Linked DNA regions of Homo sapiens: regions 2, 3 and 4 are each linked to region 1. Evidence: promoter capture Hi-C in 16 types of primary human blood cells and fetal thymus (Javierre and others, 2016). All regions are on one chromosome and are shown on one strand. Each heading gives the region's core, a stretch centred on a gene start or on the middle of the fragment in contact. The rest is flanking DNA. Distances are from core to core; before and after follow the strand shown.

Region 1 (4,429 bases), core at 1,393-3,892:
TGAGGTTTTTCATGGACCTCACATTCCAGAAGAAAGTGTAGAAGACAAAAGCGAGCATAGACATTGGGGCAAACAATGTTTAAGGCATTGCATCAATCTTGGCTTTAGGAAAGCCTTGAGACAGGTGAAATTAAAATAAAATGAGGAAAGGGAGAGTAAAAAGCAACTATCAAAATTGGCATCATTCGGAGATTGACAGCAGGTCTAAAACATAAAACCTATGCAAATTTCTCAGAATTTGGGGACAGTATTCCAAGTCGTAAAATGTAGGAGATGCCTTCCAAGTGCCCGATGAGTGACAATAACTTTATTGACATTGAAAAAAAATGTTTTTTACGTATAGTCTGTAGAATATTGATTTTGCACAGGATCAAAGAAGGCTATGACATACTCTTCCTTCTCAATATCTCCAAAGCTAAACCGATTATATCAGTCCAAAGTAAATTAACGCGCCTTTCCTTTCTATCGGCGCATCTCATTCGGAAAATACGGTAGGTGCGGGCAGCCGGGGCTCTAATTGCAGGCGGCGCGGATCAGCGTTAGTCAGGCTGTAATGCTCGCCCCGCTTCGGAGACTTCCCTCCCCCTCATCTGCCCCCGAATGTGTTTTGGCTCAACAGGTATCACATGAAAACTCGCACTTAAACCCTGGTCATCTTCTCACAGGAGCCACCCTTACATTTTTCTGCCAGGGCTGCTGCTGGCTATTCGCGCCTCCCCCACGCGAAGCGCGCGTCTAGCAGGCAGCCCCAGGGCCATCCATTAACCACCAACTCCCAGTGGCAGGCGAACTAAGCATAAATGTGTGGCTCCTCACCCGTCGAGCCAGCGACAAAGAAACCTTGTAAGCAACCTGAGCCGTGCTTTGTACATTTGGCAGTGTAGTTGTGCCACTTAGGACAAGCTTTTCGGCTCAGAGCTGCTCTGAGGCCCCAGAGAGAAAAGAAAAATCAAGCTTCAAGGAGCAGGTTGGGATTACAAGGCAGTTGCTGCCACAGAGACCGGGGCGACTGACTTCCTGGCATTTTGGGATGTAAATTAAAATTCTAGACATGCCACCCATCATTGGTTATAGTAGAGGGAAAGGTAACCTCTCCAGCTCCCTCCTCCCAAAACATGAATTATCATTTCCACTGAATGCAAATGAGCTGCCTTCCGTGGGGGGACAGCCAGCTGCAAGCTGGACAATAAACTGTTTCATAGAGACGCGGCCCGATTGCAGTTCAGAGAGGCACTCCTTTACAAAGGAAGAAGCGTCCAGTTTGTGTTGACAGCCCTGGCGCGCCTGGGCCAAAACAGCACCCCCTTTCCCGCGATCCCCCGCCCCCCCGCGACACACAGACACCCGGGATTTGAAACTAGCTTCACTGAAAGCGGCATCCATAGCGTCTATTCGAGCTGCCATGAGTATGGAGAGGTGATTGTTCAAAAAATGATGGCATGAGTCATAAACACCTCCTGAGTATTCTTTGCAGCAATTAATGGGCAGCAGGGTGCCGGAGAAGTTGTGGAAGAGAGCTATGGATCTATTTTCTCCCTAAGGACAGCTCTTTTTCCCATGATCCTGACTGTCCCTTGCCTTCCTGCTTGGGAATACATTTTTACATCCCACCTACCCCCTCCCCTATCTGTGCATGTGACACTCACTCTACCTGTCTGAACGCTGAGACTTGCTGGGGATTTTCTTTTGGTCGTCAGCTAATGACTTTCCTCCTACCTCATTCATCCCTTAAGGTGGTTCTTTACACTTCATGGCATTTCAGACCCTTCGAAAGCCTCATTTTTTGCCAAACCTCTACCACAGGTCCTAGGGAAGCTCCCCTACATTTAACATTGCATAGAAGCCCAATTTACATACATATGCATGCAGACATTCATGTTGATGTGGCAGTGCTTGGAAGATCCCTGTGCCCTAATGCATTTAAAATCAACACATTCCTAGCACGTCGATAACTTTCTTCCCTGAAAGGGTTAAAAAGCATTTAGACCAGCGTCTTTAATATATATATTCCACCCAAAGCCTCAAGCCCTAGTGATCTGACAAGAAATCAAGGTAATCCTCACCACTAAGAAAAGTCTTGCAGAGGAATTCTGCCTGGATATCCACTAGTTAGAGGCTATACTAACCAACTCACGTATTCGTTTGAGCATACTGCAAGAATATTTATTGAGCACAAGCTCAATCACCGCATTGAACGCCAAATCTGGCAAGCAAAATGCATTTCCTATCTGAGGGGGGGAGAACGAGCTGTGAATCAACTCCTTTAGTATTATCAGATTATTTTATCGGTGCAAATTGCAAAGTAAGCTGCCAGCCTCTCTCCATCTACAAGTCAGCCCACCTCCATCCAAAGCGGAGGGGACCCCCAAAGCAGACCTACCTTTCACACAAGACACCGTCAATAAAAAGACGAGGTTCCAAAACGTAAATCCACTTTTAATCCCCATTTTCTTCATCAGGATGAAGTCTAGGCGGCCACATTTAGCGCATCTTCGCTTGCCAGGCTCCCAGGGTTTGGATTCCTTTGCTCGGCTTTCCCCTTTGCGGATCCCTTTCATATTATTCGCGAGCTCCTAATTCCTGCTCCTCAGCCCGGCGCAGTGGAGTTGTTGCTGTTGTTGGTGCGCGGTCACAGCTCGGAGTGAATGGTGTTTCTGGGATACCACAGCAACCTTGACGAGGACTCAACCATCTCTCCAACGGGGGCACAAAGTCTCCGCTACTCTGGATTCTGTCTTTTCTTGTGCGTTTTTTCCCCTCCACCAAAATCTACCCCAATTCTGGCTCGTTATAGCAACCACCAGAAACCACTAGTGAGCCTCTTAAAGCCCACCTCTGCTCTCTGATAAACTCCACACAATATTTGAAATTAAGGGGCTTGCTTTTTTTCCCCGAATAGATCAATTCTGCCTGTAAAAGCAGCCCAAGAAATAATGTTAGTGAGCTCTCCGTTGCAGGCTGCGAATACAGAAGCATGTCAAAGGAATATTTTAATCGGAGGATCTGTGTTGCTTTTGGGGAAACCGTGACGATAATGAATCGGGCTCCATCGATGCCCACGTCGTTATAATGGGACATGTGTTACTACTGTAGTTGCAGTATATTTCAGGCAGGCTTCTCCCATTTATTATCCTGTGATTTAATTGAAAAAGGAAATCACAGAGAATTTTCTCAATAAATTCTGCCTTCACACGGAAAAGAATGTATTTGAACACATGTATTTACATACTCAAATAACTACGTGTAAACCCTTCACCGGGTTTTTATGATTCGGGAAACGGATTTCATCCGTGGCCTGGGCGGGGGTGGGGTGGGGAGGGAAGTCAATGTCGTTTCCTCAAATAGTTCTCCCTTTCATCCTCCCAACCCCCTTTTCAGTTTGTGTGTGCCGCAGTTAAACTACTTTATCTGTGGTAGTTATCTAGAACAAACCCATTTGTCTTAATTCTGAATCGGTACCAAATATGTAAATAGGAGGTTTCTTTCAAAACGAAAAATGTATGTATCTATACATCTGGATCTGCTTCCCCCATGCACCACGCAAGGGTTAAGATTGCACAAGGGAAGAGTTCTTGCGCCATCTACTGGCCGTCTCCGAGCCGCCCGTTCTTCCTTCGCATGTATAAGGGACCCTGTTTTTGCCATCCCTTGGTGTCAGGGGAGCTGTGTCCCCGGGACCAGTATGTCGTGCTCCTTGATTTTTTTCGACCACGGTCCTGGCCCAAATCTTTCAATGAACAAGTTCCTTAGATTAGGCAACTGATTGGTGATCTGACCTTTTCGGGAATCTGGTCCCCTCTCAGCAGTGGGGAGTGCCACAGCGCTAGTTCTGAAACAGGATATTGCTGTTGCGTGTGGCTCCATTTAACTGCCTCAGGCTATCATGGGCGTGAGCGTCTATCAACAAGGCTTAGTCTAGAGGACTGCCCAACTTGAGTTTGCAGCTCCCTGCACTGTGCACAAATAATGGGTTTGGTCCCGTGCACCACAGCATTACCCTGGCCAGCTTTGTCCCTTGGCTCGCGTTGGAGCTGCCCGCTCAGCAGAGGAAGGCGTTAGAATCTGGAAGGAGTTCCGCTCTGGGAAGTGGGCACACTGCGAGTGTCCATAGGTTTGAGTGGCGAGTGAGTTCAATCTGCAGGCGTAGGAAGGCTTCTGATCTCTCGGGGTACGTGGCATTGTGTGTGGGCCTGTGATTCTCCCAGTTCGTGTGTGTGTGTGTGTGTGTGTGTGTGTGTCTGCGCGCGCGAGAGCATAAACGCGCTGTAGTGAGAGGTAAGTGTGCGTGTTTATGAAAGATACAAAGAGTGATTTGCCATGCGTAGGTGTTTTCCCAAGTGTATTTTTGCAGTACATATGCGTGTGCACGCCTGTGTGTGTTTGTGTGTTAGAGAGGGATTTCTGTCCTGGGTAGGGAGCTGTAGCAAAA
Region 2 (4,429 bases), core at 1,217-3,716, 2.0 Mb before region 1:
GCCCATGTGGATAATTCAGGATAACTTCTTTAACTTAATATCCTTAATTTTAATCCCATCTGCAAAGTCCTTTTTACTAGACACAGTAACATATTCACAGGTTCCGGGGATTAGGACATGAGTAGCTTGGGTCAGCACAGGGAGGCATTTGTTAGCTTTTTGTACTTTCTTTTCCTTTTACTTAGCTCATTTAAATCAGAAGCTCATTTTTAATACAATTTTTGAACAGAAATTTTCACAGAGGAGTGGAAATCTGAAAGAATGTTGGAACTAAAGGGAAACTAAACTGTGATTGTTACTGTCTTGGAGAGGAGAAAGATTGAAAGGTGAAAGGAACCTGGTTACTTCTAGGAGAAGAGAAAGTATATACTACTTCACCTGTCTAGGAACACATAAGGATGTCTTTGATATGAAGCCAGTTTAAAAGAAACCTTGTTTAGCATTCCATTTTGTGAGCAGTTGAGGCCCACAAAATCTTCAAATTTTAGCAACTATTACAGATTTGTCCAAAATAATAAAAGTGTTTTTCTACAAAGAATACAGATGTAGTAGTTTTATTTTAGGTTTTTGAAAGTAAAAATATGGTAAACCAAGAATCATGGATCAATACATAGCCCCAGCTTTCAAATGTGATAAAATAGTAATTTTAAATTTCATTATGCTCATATACTGGGATGAATTGTTTAACAATAGCATATGTTCATTTTCTGTTTGGATTGTTTTCTATCCAGCTGTGAGAGTTCTCTTTATATTCTAAATACTAGTCCTTTGTTGGATATGTGATTTGCAAATATTTTCTCCTATTCTATAGCTTGTCTTTTTATCCATTTAGTAAGTATTTCAAAAAAGGAATTTAAAAAAATTTTGATGAGGTTCAATTTCTCATATTTCTTTCATGGATAATGCTTTTGGTGTCAACTCTAGAAACTTTTCACCTAGCCTTAGATTCCGGGATTTTTTTTGCAATTTTTTGAAATTTGTTTACATAGTCTTATTTGCAGAAACATTAACTGTTACCTCAGAGTCATTACAGCTCCATGTTTTTGACTGCTGTTTACTTTGGCACAGGAAAATCTGCTAATTCAATCAAGTATCTCTGTGAGTTTCCTATTGCTATACTGTGTTGTAACATCCCTATTATGGTACAAATTACCATAAATTTAGTTACTTAGAAAGACACATATTTATCACCATACACTTTTAAAGACCAAAAGGCCAAAAGTTGGTAGGGATGCGTCCTTTTCTGTAGTCTCTAAAGAATTTTTGTTTTTCTTGCCAATTTTGGCTTCTATAGATTGCTCACATTCTTTGGATCATATCCGTCTTCCATCTTTAAAGCAAAGAATGGGGCCGAGCGCGGTGGCTCATACCTGTAATCCCAATACTTTGGGAGGCCTAGGCAGGTAGATCACCTGAGGTCAGGAGTTTGAGACCAGCCTGGCCAACATGTTGAAACCCTCTGTGTATTAAAAATACAAAAAAATTAGCCGGGCGTGGTGGTAGGCACCTGTAATCCCAGCAAACTCAGGAGGCTGAGGCAGTAAATCGCTTGAACCCGGGAGGCAGAGGTTGCAGTGAGCCGTGATCACCTCATTGCACTCCAGCCTGGGCAACAAGAGCAAAATTCCGTCTTAAGAAGAAGAAAAAAAAAAAAGCAAAGAATAGTTATTTCTCAATTTACATACTGTAACTGACTCTCCTGCGACCTTCTCCCATTTATTATTACTCCAGTGATTACATTAAATCCCAGATAACTCAGAATACTCTTCTGATCTCAAGGTCAGCTGATTACTAACTTTAATTATATTTGCAACCTTAATTCCCTCCTACAGCATAACATAACATATTCACAGTTTCCAGGAATTAGACCATGGGCATCTCTTGTGGGCTATTTTTCTTCCTACCACAGTATCTGTAAATGTCAACAAAACTGTTGAGCAGAATTCAGTTATTTCAACTAATCTCTTGGCATTTTGTAGGAATAGACACAACAAAGAAAGATCATAATATTTTAATTTTGAAAACTTCATATGACTTTCCTTCCCACTTGAAATAAGCTTCGTCACTTGATAGCCTTAGTTTTGGTTGCTACAGAAAGATGCACTCAGAAATTTGCTAGTGTTACTCGCTTCAGCTGGGATTAATAAATAGAAAGCCTCAGCTATTATTTGTTTTTCTTCCTTTTCCTGTCCCATAATACACAGCAATTTCTAAGCAAGCAGTGGCAGAGCAACCTAGGGGAAAATGTACCTTTCTAGTGTTAAAGCTTTTCTCCCGGGAGGTTTTAACCAGAGATATGAAAACCGTACTGAGAAAGAAACACAAGGTGATAACAAAACAAGAAAAGGGCATGTTAACACTACTCCGTAAAAACAATCCTATTAACCTGAGGTGAAAATAAACCTTGGACCATGTTGCTGAATATCCAAACTCTTCTGCTTAAATGGAGTTGTCAACTATAAAACAACCTTCTAGTAATGTTAGCTACATCAAATACTACCTACTAAGATAATACATTTTAAAGAAATTCTTTTAGCATGTTGGACTGGGTTTGTCTCATTACATGCCAAGTATAATATCTACTTTATTTTACATATATTTTGAGTGTAGGAAAATGGAAAATAAAAATGATTGTCCATATATTTTTCAAAACATTTAAGGAGAAAATAAGCTTGGCCTCCATTGGTATTTAAATTTGACATCAATATTGTAATCTTAAAATTGAATTTTTTCTCGTTTTATACAAGAAACTAGGTAATTTTACTTAATAAATACCGCTATCTAATTGAACTTAGTCTATCTAATTGAACTTAGTCTATCTAATTGAACTTAGTCTACAAAAGTAGACATTTTGTAGAATCTTATCATATTGATTTCTTACATATCACCAAAAAACTGCAATACAATTAAGTTAGTTTTAAATTAAAACTGTATTTTGCAGATTTAAGTACATATTTATTAAATAAATATTTATGGAGCATTTATTATATTTCCCATTGTGGATACAGCAGAGAAAATAGCCTCTTTCTTAAAACTTATATTCTAATGAGGGAAAAACACAAATAAACCCATAATACTATACAATATTATGTGAGATTATAAAATGAAGAAATTTAAAGCATAGTAAAAAAATAGACAAGGAAGGGACATCTGTTTTCATAGTCAGCAAAGTTATCTCAGTTATAACCTTTTTATTACCTTGTTGGCATACAGCAGTCACAGACAATATGCAATTAAAATTTTTTATAAATAAGTAATATTCATTTACAAGACTCAGGCAACAGAGACACAGATAATGAACCAAAGCCTATTTTTATTCTAAAATAGTTTGTTTTATATATTAGTAAGAAGATGTTATAAAATTATACTGTAACTAGTGCACTTCAAAATATATTCTACTAAATACACAATAAAACTTCAAAATTGAAGTAATCTTAACTAGTCACAAAATTAAAACTGTCACCTATCACATTTAATTTTTGTTTTTATCTTAAAGCAGTTTTAAATATGAAAAATATTAATTTCTATGTATAATGAATCCACGACTGAGGTGTTCAGCTATTTTATTATTTTGAAAAAAAAACACAAATGCCTCAAGCTAGAATAAAAATTCAGATAGCCACCATTATTTCAAATCAACTGTGTTTTTACCCAAAGATCTAGCACTTTTAAATGGGAAAGTGAAGGATATAAATGAAAAGGAACAGTTGCAGAAGTTCAATGAAAATTGGGCAAAAGTTATGTGTTAAATCTGTATTTGAAGCTGTTGTGTTCATGCAAAGGTTTTATCCTTTCCGTGATTATCAGTTCTGTTATGAGTACACAGAAGACATATGATACAGAAATGGGTCCCCAGCTCTCATCATATCTTCCTGGAAAATTAATATAGGGTCCAATGTACTGGGCATTGAGAATACAAAAATTAATGGAAAATTCTTTTATATCAATAGCTAATAAGCTACTGATGAATTGGCAGATAGTTTTCATCTTATTTGCTTAGTTCAATCTATTTTCAATAAACACTTGGAGCTCATCATGAAAAAATTATTTCAATTCCACCCATAGTGGGGTTTCCTTTTTAAAATTATAATATCAATTATGGGTAAGGTGTTTTATATCTGTTGTATATTTGGTGAATATATATATATTTGTCTTGTGTCATCTTTACCCAACCTAGTCTATGTAGTATATGCAGTTATTTTTTTAATGTCTATATGAACTAAAATTTAAAAACTTTTTAGAAACTCACTATAGAATGATAGTGAAAGAATTTCATTTTACTGAATCAGACAACTATATTTATGAAGATTTAGGAAACAGAGAGGAGCGTGTGAAATGAGAAGAGAGACACAGATATTATTCATTGTAATTAATAACTGCCTGCAGTCTAACATGTATCCTATAAGGTGAAAATAATTTTATTGTTGTT
Region 3 (4,429 bases), core at 1,293-3,792, 1.5 Mb before region 1:
ATGATTTATCTTTTTGCAGTATTTAGATAAACTTTTTTATTTGGGAATAACATTAAATTTGCAGTAAAGTTGCAAAGTTACTGCAGAATTCCTGAATACTCCTCACTCAATTAGGATTCACCTAATTTTATCCTCTTACATCACAGTGTTACATTTTATCAAACTTCAAAAACAACATTAGTACCATAAGCTCAGCTTTTTAGAGCAAAACTGTAGGGAGCTGAAGGCCCATGAGACCTGACCAACTCAGCATTCCAATGGAGGCTATATGATCAAACAGTTTGCTGTTTGTCATGAATGCAGGATGTGAGCAAACTCACAACTGCTCCTGGCAATAGAAGGTTTGCTGGAGGCAATCACTCCCTGGTGCTGAGGTTATCTACTGCGACATCTAGAGCCTGTTGTTTGAGGAATGCAGTCTTGCAAGCCTACTCTGGATTGAGCAGCTGACCCCTTCTTCCACCACCCTTCTCACAATCTCTTTTGCCTAATAAATATGGAGAGCTGTGTAAAGCTCAGGGCCCTTGTCCACTAGAGGCAACGTGCCCCCTGACCCCTTCTTCCAAATATACTCTTTTGTCTCTTGTCTTTTATTTCCGTGTTTGCCCCCTTTGTTTAATCCCCCTAGGTCTGTGCGGGTTACATAGTGGCGCCCGAACAGGGATGGAATCGGGTGCTCAATAAGTGGTGCCTGAACACGGGACTTCAAGGATGTGAACGAAGAAGGTCTACTGAAGCAGAGGAACTGAAATTGGCAAGGCAGACAGGGACCCTGGGACAAGTCTGCCGGCAGTGGATATAAGGTCCCTAAAGATGTGCTGGGAGCAGTGCTTTAAAGAAGTACTGGGAACAGGAAGTTTTCTGAATCAGAGTAACAGGAGAGGGAGGATAAAAATTGGCCTATACCGCCTCCTCTGCTTCGGTAGCAGAAATAGAAACCCAAATACAAAGGATTTTATGCTCTGCTGCCATAGCTGGAGACCCCTTAGGACCTTCTGCTTTTCCTATTTCTGTAAGGCCTGATCCAAATAATCCACAGCAGGTTATTCATGAACACACTCCACTAGAGTTTAAGTTGTTAAAGGCGTACAGAGCTCATTCACCTTAGGATTGCTAGACTCTGTGTTTGGTGCTATGCGTCTTTTACCCTTTGATGTGAAACACTTGGTGCGAACTTGCTTGTCTGCGAGTGAATATCTGACACAAAACAACATATATTTCTGACCCAATAATTCCTCCTCTGGTAGCCATTCTAGATAAATCAAATGCATAGATGATAAAGGTAGCTGGAGAGATAGATAGATGCTCATTGTAGCATTTTTGTTATTGTGAATAATTGAAAACACAATATACTAGTATATCTTTTACAAAGCCATTTCAATTGATATAGGGAATAATGGGGCGTTTGGGGGTTTTGCTTGTTTGTTTTTAGAGAATGTTGACTTGAAAATACATGTTAAAAGAATATGAATCAGGGTTATAATTGTTACAAAGGTATTTTTAAAATAATTACTTTGTCTTTGACTGATACATCCTAGTCTAGGCAATATTTAGATGTTTTTAATTGAATGGAAATTAATTACTAGTTAGAATATTCTTGATTGCATTTAGCAGAGTAAATAGTGTGTGTGTTTGTGTTTGTGCGTGTGTATGTGTTTGTCACAGAGAATACTAGAAGAAACACTAAAAAAAAAAGTTGGAAGATTTAGAAGAAATCTTGGAGTATACCCAACTCCATTATTTCATTGTACAAATGGGTTAGCAAGGAACTAGTGAGGGGAAATGATTTTCCTGAAACAATGCTACTGATAAATGTATCAATAGGACTCAGGGATTCTTAGCCCAAACCTTTTTTTTTTTTCCTTTCAACTTTTATTTTAAGTTCAGGGGTATATGATGTGCAGGATGTGCAGGTTTCTTACATAGGTTAATATGTGCTATGGTGGTTTGCTGTGCAGACCATCTCATCACCTAAGTATTTAATCCAGCATCCCTTAGCTATTTTTCCTGATGCTCCCCCTCCCCCTAACCCCTCAGCTCTGACGGGGCCCAGTGTGTGTTATTCCCCACCATGTGTCCATGTATTCTCATCATTCAGCTCCCACTTATAAGTGAGAACATGTGTTAGCCCAAAGCTTTTATTTTCACTGAGGAGTATTCTTTTTGGGCATACAGCTAAAATAAATTAAGTTGCAATTAATCTTATTTTATTTATAAACAAAGCTATTTATTGACCTGTCCCTACCAAAGAGAGATATTTATGACTCTTAAAATTTAGCAAGAAAGATATAAAATTTTGTTCATGAACTTAAAAAAGGCATCACGTTAAGTTATACAAATATCTGTGAAACTCTTACTCTAAATAAAAAAAAGTTATATTTTAATAATTCCTTAAAACTCATAGTAGATTGGAAATATGACCATAATTCACTTCTACATCCATACCCTTTGCAGTGTGACTTTGCAGCTGCTCACATCAAGAGAGGAGTCTCTTTTCTTTCCCTTTACCTGTCTTGTGACTTCTTTTGGTCACAAAACGCAGCACAAGTAATGTGGTGCCAATTCCAACTCTAGGCCTCAAAGGGGCTTTGTAAATTTCTGTCCTTTCTCTTGAAACCCTACCCAGACATTGTGTGAAGAATCCTAGCTGGCCTAAAGGAAGGTGAGAGATGAATCATACCACCTGAGACTTTACTGGACCATCCAGTCCCCAGCTGACCTGGCAGGTGATCTGGCAACTGACCATAGATGCATGAATGGGCTCAGCTGAGGATGACATCTGGCCCAGATTAGCAGAACCATCTTGATGACACACAGACTCATGAAATCAATAAAATATTGTTATTTGAAGTCATTAGGATTTGATTAATTTTTTATGACAATAGCTAAAAAGCCATTGTTTACATGAAGGCATTAAAATTAGATTATGTGTTACTTATATAATATATCAAAGCTTTTGGATAATAAGTAAAATTTTATCCCACAGCAAAATATCATTTTATCAGAAGGCATAATTTTGGCCTGGTAAAAATATTTTTCAACAATTTTTCATAAGTGATAGACCCCGCTATGGTTATATATCATCAAAGTTTTAAGATCACATTTTATATTCTCCTCTAACTTGTAAGTTCAAAATATAGCTTCTTAAATTTGTTAAAATTTTTCATTATTTAAATTATGTTTTGCATCAAAATCAATGGCAGGAAAATACAAACCCAAATCCTCAATTTTAATGAATAAGCCTGGCTTAAAAATGACTCTGTCATACTCTAACACATAAAAGCAGAGAGTACAATGGTTTTTATCAGGGGCAGAGGGAATGGGAAAATGGAGAGTTGCCATTCAAGGGAGGCAAAGTTTCAGTTATAAAAGATGAGTAAGTTCTAGAGATCTGCTGTGTAACATTGTGACTACAGGTAAGCATTCTGTATTGTATACTTTAACATTTGTTAGGAAGGTAGGTCTCATGCTAAGTGTTTCTACCACAATTTAAGTTAAAAAAAAGAATTTTAAAATAAGGTAATACCAATGAATAAGATGAGGTGAAATGTATGTATCTTTAAATCATTTGGCATTCAGTTTGCAAAAAGTGAATTGACAGTAATAGCACATTAGAGCATGTTTCTTAATTTCTATTTATTAGCTAAGTGTAATATTTGTATGTGACCACTAGATAGAGCTACTATAATATCCTGAGAGAAAAAAAAATATAGGAAACTATCTCACGTTTAGCATGTATATAGATTGCTTTTCTTTATATTGCATTCTATATGATCTCAGGTAGCTCTGGATTTGCTAACTTTAGTTTGATGTAACTCAGCTTTACTTTCACTATAATACATGCAAACACCAATTTTATTAGTTTACCAACCATGATCTGCATATAATGCATTATGAAGTTTAATCATAGTAATAGTTCTAAAACCATAATACAATATTTTAGGATGTTTCAGTATGATATTTGTCCTAAAGCCACCAAAAATAATTTTGTGCTGAACTCTTAATATATTTTATGATTTTTGATATCTGTATACATTAGAGTGTTTATTACACATGTGGCAAATAAGGCTTCCCACTTTCAGATAAAGATTATATGTAAAATAAAGAATATACAAAATAAATAAAGGTTCAGTCTAATGCTGAGGTTCTTAAAGCAGAAAAATTAGGCTAACTAAATGAAACATAAGTCTCCTCCGTTTTTGTCAACAGGCAGAAGACCTCCATTATAAAACCAACAAAGAGAAATTCAATTCGTAAAAAACTCAAAGGCAGAGATTATGTCCTAAACTTTTTTTCTAGTTCCTATAAACAACGATCACTGTCCTCATCATAGAATAGGAAAATAAATCCACAGAGATTCATTCTTAAAGATCAGCTGATTATTTGCTAGCTACAGTAGTACATTATTTATAAATATCTAGAAATTAAT
Region 4 (4,429 bases), core at 971-3,470, 1.5 Mb before region 1:
AATCACATTGCCTTTAAAAGTACTTTTTCAGAGTAACATTTGTATGGTTTTTCATAGCTATTGCACCATTTTACATTCCCACCAACAGTGTACAAGGGTTCCAATTTCTCCAAATTCTTAACACTTTTTAAAAATAATAGCTATCCTATCAGGTATGAGGTATTATCTCATTGTGGTTTCGATTTGCTTTTCCTTGATGATTAGTAATGTTGAACATTGCTTTTATATCCCTGTTGTCCATTTGTATGTCTTATTTGGGGAAATGTCCATTTAAATGGAAATGCTATATAAAACTGCATTCAAACAAGCCCTTAATGACACAGATAAGTTACATGTCATTTAAAAAATTAGATTATTTGTTGTATTGCCCATTTTTAAAGTCCTTTGCCCATTCTTTTAATTGCATTTTTTGTTTTATTTTTGCAATTGAGTTCCTGGCGTTTTTAAAGTATATTTTGGGCATTAACTACCTAACAGATATGTGTTTTGCCAATATTTTCTTCTATTCTATAGGTTGCCTTTTCACTTTATGGATTGTTCCCTTCTCTGTGCAGCTTTTAGTATATACATACAATGGAATATTATTTAGCCTTATAAAAGAAGGACACCCTGCTATATGTGGCAACATGGATTAACCTGGAGAAAATTATGCTCAGTGAAATAAGCCAGTCACAGAAGAACAAATACAGCATGGTTCTACTTGTAGAAGATATTTAGGATAGCCAAACTCACAGAAGCAGAGATGGGAATGTTGTCTGTCAGGAGTTGGTGGGAGGGGAAAATGGGGAGTTGTTTAATTAGTATAAAATTTCAGTTATGTAAGATGTTTACATTCTAGTAATTTGCTGTACAACATAGTGCTATTAGTTAATGATACTGTAATGTACACACTTAGGAATCTGATGAGAGGGAAAAAGAAAAGAAATTTGATAAGAGGGTAAATCTTGTGTTATGTTTCTTACCACAATAAAAGTTTTATTGTTATACCTATCAAATAATATTATAATAACAGGAAACCTACCCCTTTTATCTGAATGGTAGTCAAACTCAAAAAAATGGATATGTTAGTATGAATCCAAAAAATCTACTTTTCAAAAAAATTCGGTCACACTTCTCAAATTTCTTTAAAATCATGGTAAATAACCTCTAGCAGAAACTATGATTTTTCTTTCTTACATGTCATTTTATATAATATTAAAGACAAATATGCTACATGACTAAGTCAAATAATAAAATATTAATATAAATAGAAATAGTTCAGTATGATTTTTAGGATGTTAGGATTATTATTTGTTTATTGAAATGTTTTATGCTCTCATGCCAAGAATTTCAGAATTTCCTTCAAAAATATGCAATTAGCTAAGAATGTCTCAAAAGAGATTTTTAAAACTTCACTATTATGAGCTGGTGTGGTGGCTCACTCCTATAATTCCAGAACTTTGGAAGGCCAATGCAAGAGGATTGTTTGAGCCCAGGAGTTCGAGACCAATCTGGGTAACATAGTGAGACCCTGTCTCTTCAAAAAGTTTAAAAATTTGCCAGATGGCATGGCTGTAGTCACAGCTACTCAGAAGGCTGAGGTGGGAAGCTTGATTGCTTGAGCCTGGGAGGTCAAGGCTGCAGTGAGCTGTGATTGTGCCACTGTATTCTAGCCTGGGTGATAGGGTAAGACTGTCTCAAAAAAAAAATAATTAAAAATAAAAATAAAATTAATTACAAAACTTTCCTCTTATCATTGCTTTAGCTGCATCCCGGAGATTTTGGTATGTTGTTTCCATTTTTCTTAATTTCATTTTTTTTATATTTGCATGAATTTTGATGTTCATCCAGAAGTTATTCAGGAGAAGGTGTTCAATTTTTATGTTTTTATGTGTTTTTGAGAGACCTTCTCAATACTGATTTCTATTTTTATTGTACTGTGGTAAAAGAGTGTGCTTGGTATGATTTCAATTTCTTGAATGTATTGAGCTTGCTTTATAATGGGTCATGTGGTCAATCTTAGAATATGTTTTGTGTGTAGATGAGAAGAATGTATATTCTATGGTTGTTGGGTGGACTGTTCTATAGATACCTATTAATTTCAATTGGTCAAGTGTCAAGTTAAAGTCTAGCGATTCTTTGTAAGTTTTCTGCTTTGGCAATCTATCTTGCACTGTCACGTCACTGGGGTGTTGAAGATTTCTGTTATTATTGTGGGATTGTCTATGTCTTTTTATAAGCCAAGAAGAGCTTATTTTATGAACCTGGGTGCTCCAATGTTGGATATATATATATATATATATATGATAGTTAAGTCTTCTTGTTGGATTGTACTCTTTATCATTATATAATGCCCTTTATTATCTTTCTTAATATTTGTTGGTTTAAAGTATGTTTTTCCTGACATGCGATTAGCAACTCCTGCTCTTTTACTTTTCTGTTTGCATGGTATAATTTTCTCTGTCTCTTTAATCTGAGCATGTGGATGCTGTTACATGTGAGATGGATCTCTTGAAGGGAAAAGATGTTGGATCTTGTCTTTTTATCTAGCTGGCCACTCTGTGTCTTTTAAGTGATGTTAATTGGGTTAAGTGATGCTTAACCCAATTACATTCAAGATAGTATTAACGTGTGTGATTTTCATTCTTGTCATTGTGTTGTTAGCTGGTTGTTATGTAGAATTGATTGTGTACTTACATTATAGTGCCTGTGGATTATGTGTTTATTTAAGTGTGTTTTTGTGGTAGCAGGTGTCATTCTTTTGGTTTTATGTTTAGCACTCCCTTAAGGACCTCTTGTAATGCTGGTCTAGTTGAAACAAATTCCCTCAGCATTTGCTTGTTTGAGAAGGATATTTTCTCTCCTTCACTTATGAAGCTTAGTTTGGTGCAATATGAAACTCTTCGTTGATTTTTTTTTCTTGAAGAATGCTGAAAATAGGCCTCCAATCTCTTCTGGCTTGTAAGGTTTCTGCTGACAGATCTGCTGCTGGCCTGATGGGATTCCCTCTGTATGTGATTTGACCCTTCTCTTTAGCTGCCTCTAAGATTTTTTTTCTTTTGCATTAACTTTGGAAATCTGATGATTATGTGCCTGAAGGATGGTCATCTTGTATAGTACTAGCTAGGGCTATTTGTATTTATTGCATTTGAATGTCAACCTCTGTAGTAAGTTAAGAAAATTTTCATAAACTATATTCTTATATATTTTCCAAGTTGCTTACTCTCGCTCCTCTCTCAGGAATGCCAATGAGGTGTAGATTTGATCTCTTTGCATAATTTTATAGTTTTCAAAGTTTTCATTAATTTTTTAAAATGATTTTTCTTTATTTTTGTCTGAGTTGTTCTGAAGAACTGGTCTTTGAGATCTGAGATCCTTTTATTAGCTTGGCCTATTTTGTAGTTAATACTGCTTTTGTATTATTAAATTCTTGCATTAAATTTTTCAGCTCTAGAAGTTCAGTTTGGTTCTTTCTTAAAATGGCTGTTTCATCTTTCACCTCTGGGATCATTTTACTGGATTCCTTGGATCGGGTTTCAACTTTCTCCTGAATCTCAGTGTGCTTTCTTGCCATCCAGATTCTGAATTTTGTGTCTGTCATTTCAGTGATTTCAGACTGGTTAAGAGCTATTGCCAGTGAACCCATTTGGAGGTAAGAGGACACTAGCTTTTCCAGTTGCCAGAGTTCTTGTGCTGATTCTTGCTCATCTGGGAGAATTGGTGTTTCTTTACTGAGGTATCAGTTGAGTACCATCAGTTGGCTTCAATTTTAGATGCTTTCAGAGTGTCAGGGCTCTGTATGGTATCTTTATGTGTAGGTAAATTCTTGCACTTGTTTTCATATGAGCATATAATTAGCAAGATAATTTTTGATGTTGTAGTTTGGGCTGCAATCCAGTAGATGGCACTTAAGAGTAATGTCCAGTAGCTAGACTAATACCCAGTAGTGCAGCTCTTTTGTACTTCCTGGCATTCACATGTGAGGTCTGCAGTGGAGGTGGAAAAAGATGGTCCCCTCAGGTCCACTCCTGGGCCTTGGTGGAGCCTCCTCTGATCTCTGATGCTGCAAGTTCATTTTTTTTTTTAGGTGTTACGGGTAATGGGACCCACTCAGGCAGCAGCTATGGCAGGTAGGTATGCCACACCTTTCTGGACTAGCCCTGTGGAGGGAGACATGCCCTGCTCTAGATCTGGCCTAAGAATCCATGCATCTTGTCCCCTCTCAGTTCTATGAGGGTGAAGGCTCCTCCCTGTTGCTCAAATGCCTGCCACAAATTTCATATTCCTGAGCTATGAACTGCAGCCTAGAGGCACTGTGGCATCTTACAGCTTGGGGTCAGGTTTTGGCTGCACTGGGGGATCCAATTTGCTCTTGGGTTACCAGGAAAGTACTCAGGTGAAACAATGCACTTATGTTGAGTTTCAGAAGCTGTGCTATGTACACATTCAC

What was found. The method cuts DNA at HindIII sites, captures the fragments that hold promoters and counts their contacts. A CHiCAGO score of 5 or more calls a contact.
Region 2: a contact is called between a fragment that was not itself captured here and the fragment with the promoter of CSMD3 in region 1, in 1 of 17 cell types (endothelial precursors). The highest score is 7.2, in endothelial precursors.
Region 3: a fragment that was not itself captured here is called in contact with the fragment with the promoter of CSMD3 in region 1 in 3 of 17 cell types (monocytes, M2 macrophages and megakaryocytes); the score reaches 6.1 in monocytes.
Region 4: a fragment that was not itself captured here is called in contact with the fragment with the promoter of CSMD3 in region 1 in 3 of 17 cell types (monocytes, M0 macrophages and M2 macrophages); the score reaches 9.8 in monocytes.

Annotation. Positions count from the first base shown.
Region 1 is chr8:113,434,297-113,438,725 of GRCh38, forward strand. It overlaps CSMD3 (CUB and Sushi multiple domains 3), which reads right to left and starts at 2,643. Exons shown (of 71, transcript NM_198123.2): 1 at 2,381-2,643. The coding sequence starts at 2,558. RefSeq lists enhancers at 1,227-1,737, 3,515-3,564, 3,577-4,077. The HindIII fragment of the contact is 6,354 bases long and covers 953-4,429 here.
Region 2 is chr8:111,436,619-111,441,047 of GRCh38, forward strand. All of the region lies in intron 2 of LINC02237 (long intergenic non-protein coding RNA 2237), which reads left to right. Among named protein-coding and RNA genes, the nearest start is that of LINC02237, 62 kb to the left of the region's middle. The HindIII fragment of the contact is 405 bases long and covers 2,265-2,669 here.
Region 3 is chr8:111,930,901-111,935,329 of GRCh38, forward strand. No RefSeq gene overlaps it. Among named protein-coding and RNA genes, the nearest start is that of LINC02237, 560 kb to the left of the region's middle. The HindIII fragment of the contact is 818 bases long and covers 2,134-2,951 here.
Region 4 is chr8:111,960,515-111,964,943 of GRCh38, forward strand. No RefSeq gene overlaps it. Among named protein-coding and RNA genes, the nearest start is that of LINC02237, 590 kb to the left of the region's middle. The HindIII fragment of the contact is 1,268 bases long and covers 1,587-2,854 here.